Linked DNA regions of Homo sapiens: region 1 is linked to region 2. Evidence: promoter capture Hi-C in 16 types of primary human blood cells and fetal thymus (Javierre and others, 2016). All regions are on one chromosome and are shown on one strand. Each heading gives the region's core, a stretch centred on a gene start or on the middle of the fragment in contact. The rest is flanking DNA. Distances are from core to core; before and after follow the strand shown.

What was found. Contacts are between HindIII fragments. The CHiCAGO score rates a contact against its expected background, and 5 or more counts as called.
Region 1: a contact is called between the fragment with the promoter of HORMAD2 here and the fragment with the promoter of ASCC2 in region 2, in 1 of 17 cell types (M1 macrophages). The highest score is 6.0, in M1 macrophages.

What each region holds. Positions count from the first base shown.
Region 1 is chr22:30,077,722-30,081,811 of GRCh38, forward strand. It overlaps HORMAD2 (HORMA domain containing 2), which reads left to right and starts at 2,743. Exons shown (of 11, transcript NM_152510.4): 1 at 2,743-2,770. HORMAD2-AS1 (HORMAD2 and MTMR3 antisense RNA 1) reads right to left here and starts at 2,536. Exons shown (of 5, transcript NR_110541.2): 1 at 2,407-2,536. RefSeq lists silencers at 775-894, 2,344-2,393 and enhancers at 945-1,024, 2,199-2,896, 2,734-2,813. The HindIII fragment of the contact is 6,725 bases long and covers 15-4,090 here.
Region 2 is chr22:29,837,024-29,840,728 of GRCh38, forward strand. It overlaps ASCC2 (activating signal cointegrator 1 complex subunit 2), which reads right to left and starts at 1,251. Exons shown (of 20, transcript NM_032204.5): 1 at 1,155-1,251. RefSeq lists an enhancer at 1,524-1,583. The HindIII fragment of the contact is 11,938 bases long and covers 1-3,705 here.

The DNA of each region.
Region 1 (4,090 bases), core at 1,493-3,992, 240 kb after region 2:
CCGGCCTCTTAAGAAGCTTAGGGACCTTGAGCAAATTACTTATATTCTCATCTGTAAAGTAAAGGACTAGACTTGGAGTATTTCTAAAGCCCCCTGTAACACTGTCAATGTTTAATTATCTAATGTTGTTCCTTAAGTAACCGATTCATTCATTCAACTATTTGAATACCTTCAATGTTCACTGAGGAACAGTTAATTCAGGTATCTATTTGAATACCTTCAATGAACATAATAAAAGAAGTAAAAATAACAGCTCTTGACCTCAAGGAGTTAAGCCAGCGGTAAAGATGAAGGCTTTACCCAACAGCTCCTAGCACAGGGGCCAGGCACAGGGGCTTATTAATCCATTCCTTTGGTCACAAGGAGCCTGCCAAATGGTGAGGAAGGAAAGAAGTAAGAGAAACTCCACAGAAGCTCTTCGGAGGAAAACAGGGTAATTTATAATTTCAGTCCACCAATGTCTATTGAGTGCCTACTGTGTGTGCCAGCACTGGGCATCCTGGGGCGACTCCGCCAGATCAGGCCTCTGATGACACTTACTTACTTATTCCAGGTGATAGAGAGAAAAAAACAAAACAGGTTATCAAAGAAATGAAGTCCATGGCTGGGCTTGGGGGCTCAAGCCTGTAATCCTAGCACTTTGGGAGGCTGAGGTGGGTGGATTGCTTGAGGTCAGGAGTTCAAGACCAGCCTGGCCAACATGGTGAAACCCCATCTCTACTAAAAATACAAAAATCAGCCGGGCATGGTGATGCATGCCTGTAACCCCAGCTACTTAGGTGGCTGAGGCAGGAGAATCACTTGAGCCTGGGAGGTGGAGGTGGCAGCGAGCCAATATCACGCCACTGCACTCCAGCCTGGGTGACAGAGCAAGACTCTGTCTCACAAAAAAAAAAAAAAAAAAAAAAAAAAAAAATTAGATTGAGAGAAATTCTATGAAAGAAACAGAATAACGAATAACTGTGTTTGCTGGTGGGGTAGACTGCCAATAGTATAGGGCAGAGAGGGGTAAGTCTTTGGATATGGTAGCAGTTGACTGAGCTCAGATCTGAAGGCAGAAGAAAATTAGAACAGCCAGCACAGAGGGCCTAGTGATCCAGCCAGAGAGGCTGGTAAATGCGGAGGCTGAGAAGGGCTGGTGCAGACAAACCATCTGTGTGGTTGGAGCTTAAAAAGCAGTTACTTCCGGAAAGTATAGGGTGAACGCAGTAGTTCTCAACAGAGGGCAATTTTGCACACCCCATGGGACATTTGGCAAAGTCTAGAGAAATTTTTGGTTGTTATGATGGTGGGGGTGGGGAGAAGGTTGAGAAAACTTGCACTAAAAGAATATTTCAGCCCAAATTTCAGTTTTAGTCATTATGTTCTAAACTCATGTTCTCGCCAACTTGAATAGTTTTTTTTTTCTTTCCTGCAGAAACAAAATAAGAACAGGTTTCAAGTGGCTCACTCTTTCATCTACTCTCTTGGGAAATCCCCTTGGGGAGGTTCATGGGACTCCAGGAGCCTTTGGAAAGCACCACAGGATACGAAATATCTACCTAAACAGGTGAGAAACGATCCAAGGAGCCACACCCCCAACTGCTCCCACAGTTACCAGGGCAGAAAAAACTGAGATTAGGGGTAGGGCACAAAGGAGAATATATTTATGTTTTATTTGCATAATTACAAATTAATGTTAAAAAGAATGCAAAGTCAGGTCCAGGGTAGGGATGAAGAGGTTGCAGATGCCCTCAAGTATTGGAAAGCTCTGGCCTTCTGGCCTTATGTCTTTTTTCTTTCTTTTCTTTTTTTTTATTTTTGAGACAGGGTCTCCCTCTGTTGCCCAGGCTGGAGTGCAATGGTACGATCTTGGCTCACTGCAACCTCAAACTCCCCGGCTCAAGCGATCCTCCTACCTCAGCCTCCCGAGCAGCTGGGACTACAGGCGCACGTCAGGTGGCCCAGCTAATTTTTGTACTTTTTAAAATTTTTTTGAGACGGAGTCTCGCTCTGTCGCCCAGGCTGGAGTGCAATGGCGGAATCTCGGCTCACTGCAACCTCAGCCTCCTGGGCTCAAGCGATTCTCGTGCCTCAGCTTCCCAAGTAGCTGGGACTACAGGCGCGCGCCACCACGCCCAGCTAATTTTTGTATTTTTTGTAGAGACGGGTTTTCAACATGTTGGCCAGGCTGGTCTCGAATTCCTGACCTCAAGTGACGCGCCCGCCTCAGCCTCCCAGAGTGCTGGGATCCCAGGTGGAGCCACCGCGCCGCACTTCTCGGGCCTTCTTCTAACTCGGGTCCCTGGGCCCCCCAGGCTCTCGCTTCCCTCCCCTACGCCGCCCCGCGCCCGCCTCAGACCTCTCTGGGACCCGCCGGCCTGGCGTCCTGGCCCGCCCGAGCCCCACGGTCCCTCGGGTCCTAACCTCGGCGGGGCAGGCACCTCCTCAGGAAGCCCCGGAGCAGGCTGTCGTTGTATAGGTGGCCCAGGCTGGCGGCCCCTGACCGAAGGTCGCGTCGGGTCAGTGTGCAGCCCGTGGCTGAGAGGCGGCTGCTGAGGGGCCGGGCGGGCTAGGGGCCGGCTAGCCGCCGTTCGCCCCTGCTTTGCATATTCATGAAGTCTAGCGAGGCCGGTCGCCCAGGCTAGCCGTGGACGGGTCATGAATTATTCATGAGGAAACCTCTGGTCCCGCCCAGAAAGGCCTCGTTGACTATTCATGAGCCGAGGAGCGGGTTTGGGCCGGAAAAGGCCGTTGACCCCCGGTGGGAGGGAAGCGTCGACGAGCTGAGGTGAGGGCTGTTGAGACGCGAGGTCTCGGCCCAGAGAGGGCACTCGGGCGTTGTTAGTTCTGTCTTTATGTCAAAAAACAATTTTTTTTTCTTTTCTTATTACTTAAGGCTTTAAGTTGGATTTGAAAGTATCATATTTCGTGAGGGCCTAAAGTACTGTGAAGAGAATCGGGAGGGCAGGGGGCTGAGGAGGAAGGCAAAAGGGAGGCGATTTCCCCCAGAACTGGACAGAGAGCACCCAGGTAGTTTTGAAATTCAGATTTTTCTGGACATGAAATCAAACTTGCTGAGCAAGCAGCAGCCATAATGAGCCATGATGAGGCTGGCAGGGCAGACGATGTCTGTGCCCGACATTGGAGGGGGCCGTGTGTGGTGGAGCTTTGGGGAAGTTTATCTTACCTGGGTCAGATTCTCCCCAGCCATTGAGGTTTTCTGCCAGGATCGATGCCTGGTACAGGCCAAGAGGTGAGAGAGGTGGGGACAAGACACCCCGCCCCCCTTGACCTCAGCTCCCCTTTCACTTTAGTGAGGATTTGCCAATTAATCCCTATGGACTTTAGTTCCCTAAACAGAGGGAGAGAGTCTTGAACCTCAGGATTAGCCAATCGCCAAAATGTGTCCGAGTACGCAGGGCACTGGACAGGCTGTGCAGTACATCGTGTACTCAGCTGGTAGAAATGAGGGGTGGTTCTGGCCCCTAAAGGGGTTTTTAATCTCAGCAGGATCATAATCTAATTTCTCCTCCATTGGACCATCAATCTGTTGAGGTAGGAACAGTATTTTACATCTCGTAATCCTGCATGTTGTTGCCTGGCACATTGTAGTTGCCTCGTAGATGTTGAATGAATGAATAATTGAAATAGCATGAAAAAGATATTAAAAAGTCAAAAGAGCATGAACAAATACTCAATTAATATAGTGGAAGCCATTTTCTCTGAATGAGCACAGGTAGGGGAATTACCAGGGCCAAATGGAATTTGTTAAAATGGTGAATAATTTATTGAAGCAAGCTCTGTTGGAAGGTCTAAGTAATTGGGCGAACTTTGGCAAACCAAGTTCCCTTGCTTAGCCTCACTTTCCTTTTCTTTTTTCTTTTTTTTTTGTGAGATGGAGTCGAGCTCTGTGCCAGGCTGGAGTGCAGTGACGCAATCTCAGCTCACTGCAACCTCCACCTCTCGGGTTCAAGCGATTCCCCTGCCTCAGCCTCCCATGTAGCTGGGACTACAGGTGTGCACCACCACGCCCAGCTAAATTTTTTTATTTTTTTTTATTTTTAGTAGAGACAGGGTTTCACCATGTTGGCCAGGATAGTCTCGATCT
Region 2 (3,705 bases), core at 1-2,500:
AGCTATGTAGATAAGGCTCATGAAGCTGTGGCAGCATTTAAAAGAGAGACCTGGCTTGAGGAAGAAGTGATGTCAAGGAAGACCTGAGTTTTTGTCTAAAGCACGGGTACAAATTAAGTAGGCAGGGCTGGGCGCGATGGCTCACGCCTGTAATCCCAGCGCTTTGGGAGGCCAAGGCGGGCGGATCACGAGGCCAGGAGATCGAGACCATCCTGGCTAGCAAGGTGAAACCCCGTCTCTACCGAAAAAAAAAAAAAAAATTAGCAGGGCGTGGTGGTGCATGCCTGTAATCCTAGCTACTCAGGAGGCTGAGGCAGGAGAATCGCTTGAACCCGGGAGGCGGAGGTTGCAGTGGGACGAGATCACGCCACTGCACTCCAGCCTGGGCGACAGAGCAAGACCCCGTCTTGGGGGGAAAAAATAAATTAACTGGACAATCTGAACTTTGAGCTCCAAAAGGACAAACAATAATCATGACTATGTCTGTGCCCACCACTGTATTCCCCTGCCAGGCAGGACAGCAAAAGCCAAAAGCTAAGAAAGGGAGGGGGAGCTCCCTACAAGCACCCAATTGCAATATGGCCTGGGAGCATCCCCGGGGCTACTGCTCCCTCAGCCTCTTTGTCATCATTCCTCTAGTCTCTCAATTAAATACTACTCTCCTCAGAGACCTTCTGATGGCTCTGCCTATAGTATCCACTCTCCCAGTTACTGTCATAGCTTTAATGACCTTGTGCATTTGCTTGTCGTTGACCATCTCCTCCCACTAGACTGTAAGCTCCATGAGGGCAGAAGCCTTGTCTGTCTTGCTTTCTTTGTATCCCCAATGTCTAGATCTGTGTCTGGCACATAGGAAGCACTCCACAAATATTTGCTGAACGAATGAATGAACCCTGAGGAAACTGAAGCCCCGGGTGTGAGGACGTGGGGGGATCGTGGCTGGTCCAACGCCACTCTGGGGCCGAACTTCGAACCCGTGGCTCCTGACCCTGGCGGCCAAGTCTCGAGAGGCGGCTCACAACCCCTCAGGTAGCGTAAGCGTGGGCCCCGCAATGGAGGCCAGAGGATGGGAGAGCCAAGGCTGCCCAAGGCATAGCCGCGGCTCCTCCGGGGTCCCTTGCCCTGCATCTGGCAGGGACCAGCCACGCACTCACCTCGGCGGCTCCACCACCGGCTCTGTGCCGCCGCCGCCGCCGCCGCCGCCGACCACGGTGACAGCTCCCTGAGCGCCCGCACTTCCGGGGTCAAACTGCGATTCCGCAGGAGCAGACAGGAAGTCTCGGCCTGGCCCCGCCCCCAGAGCCGAGCAAACTACCGCCGGGAAGCCGGACCCGGGTTGCGCCTCTCTTCTTAAGACTCCGCCCCACACTCGGCGTCTGTAGCCACGCCCCCTTCCCCTCCTATCTCCCTTCCTGCTTAAGCAGAGAATAGGTCAGCTGAGGGCGGGCTGTGTGATTACACCTCTCGGGAAATCCAAGTATGGCACCTGAGAGGACGTCTCGGAATCCCAGGCTTCCACCTTCTGCCCGACCTCCTTAGTCACCGTTTTACATATTTAATCCAGAAGAGAAATTTTAACAAGTCAAAAGCACGAACATAATGTTAAGCAGATGTACAAGTACAGACTGCGATTTCATTTACGGGAAATTCTAGAACAGACAGAACTCATGAGTAGTGATGGTGTTAAAATTGGTGGTTTCCTCTGGGGCTGTGGGCTGGGAGGGGCCACAAGTGAGGCTGGGGTCACCCCCTGTCTTCATCTCGGTGGTAGCCATGTAGATGTGTTCACTTTGGAAAATTCATCAAATTGTACGCTTAAGATTTGTGCATTTTTCTGTATGTATGCAATACAGTTTTGTTCTGTTTTGTTTAAGGAAGTTACAAGTATAGCTATCCTAAGAGAAGGATGCAATTTTTTCTACAGAATGTCTCAGGTAATGTAGGTTTAGTGGTTCCTAAGCCTGACTATGGATCAGAATCATCACAGAAAACTTGTTAAGAACACACATTCCTGGCTTCATCTCAGTGCCTGGTACACAGTAAGAATTCAAAACCAACCACCATCATTATTGGGGTGTTATAGAAGCCCCCGAATGGAGAACACAACCCCACCCTGGGATTGTGAAATATTTCCCAGGACACTCCTGCCAACCCCTGCTATCTGCACTAGGGCTACAAGGAATGCTTAGTTCAGTGCCTGTCTTCAAGGGGCTTACAGGATAGGAAGTGCAAGAAAACCAATAGCAATGAGTCAGTGTGATGAATGCAGGGTGCTAAGGAAATAGGAGAGATGGGCTGTAAACCAGAAATGAGATGAGAGGGGCTGGATATTATATTAGTTTTGTATTGCTGCATAACATATTACCACAAACTTATAACAACACACTGCTTGCCACTTATAACAAACACATTTATTTATTTATTTATTTTGAGACAGAGTCTCACTCTGTCACCAGGCTGGAGTGCAGTGGTGTGATCTTGGCTCACTGTAACCTCTGCCTCCCGGAGGTTACAGTGGGTTCAAGCGATTCTCCTGCCTCAGCCTCCCAAGTAGGCAGGACTACAGGCATGAGCCACCAGGCCCAGCTAATTTTTGTATTTTTAGTAGAGACGGAGTTTCACCATGTTGGCCAGGATGGTCTCGATCTCTTGACGTCGTGATCCGCCTGCCTCAGCCTTCCAAAGTGCTGGGGTTACAGGCGTGAGCCACCACACCTGGCCAACAAACATATTTATTATCTCACATTTTCTGTGGGCCAGGAATCTGAGGATGGCATAGCTGGCTCCTCTGCATCAGGGTCACCCACAAGACTGCAATCAAGATATCGGCCAGGGCTGGAGTCTCATTTAAAGGCTCAACTCAAAAAGGATCTGCTTCCCATGTCTAGTGGCTAAATTCAGTTCCTTAATGGTTGTTGGACTAAGGGTCTCAGTTCCTAGCTGGATTTTGGCTAAAGGCTTGTCACGTAGGCTTCTCCAGTGTAGCAGCCTGCTTCATCAAAGCATGCAAGCCTAAAAGTTAATAGGGAAGCCAAGAGTGGTGGCACATGCTTATGGTTCCAGCAGGTTGGGAGGCTGAAGCAGGAGGATTGTTTGCGCCTAGGAGTTCAAATTGAGCCTGAGCAACATAGCAAGACCCAGTCTCTAAAAATTAAAAATAAATAAATAAATAAAAGAAGGCAATAGGGGCCGGGCACCGTGGCTCATGCCTATAATCCCAACACTTCGGGGGGCTAAGGTGGGAAGATTGCTTGAGCCCAGAAGTCTGAGGCCATCTTAGGCAACATAGCGAGACTTCGTCTCTACAAAAAAAAATTTAAAATTAGCCAGGCATGCTGGTGCATGCCTGTAGTCCCAGCTACTTAGGAGGTCGAGGCAGGAGAATTGCTTGAGCCCAGGAGTTCGAGGCTGCAGTTAGCTGTGATCACACCACTGCACTCCAGCCTGCACAACAGAGCAAGACCCTGTCTCAAACAAACAAAAGGAGGCAATAGGAGATTCTACTAAGAAGAGAGAAATTACAACCTCATGTAACCTAATCAAGAAAGTGACATCAGTTTTGCCATGTTCTATTTGTTAGTAGCAAGTCACAGGATTTGCCCACAGGGGATTACACAAGGGCATGAATACCAAAAGATGTGAATCAATGGAGGCCATTCTAGAGTCTGCCTGCCACAGATACTTGGAGGATGCATATCAACCCCA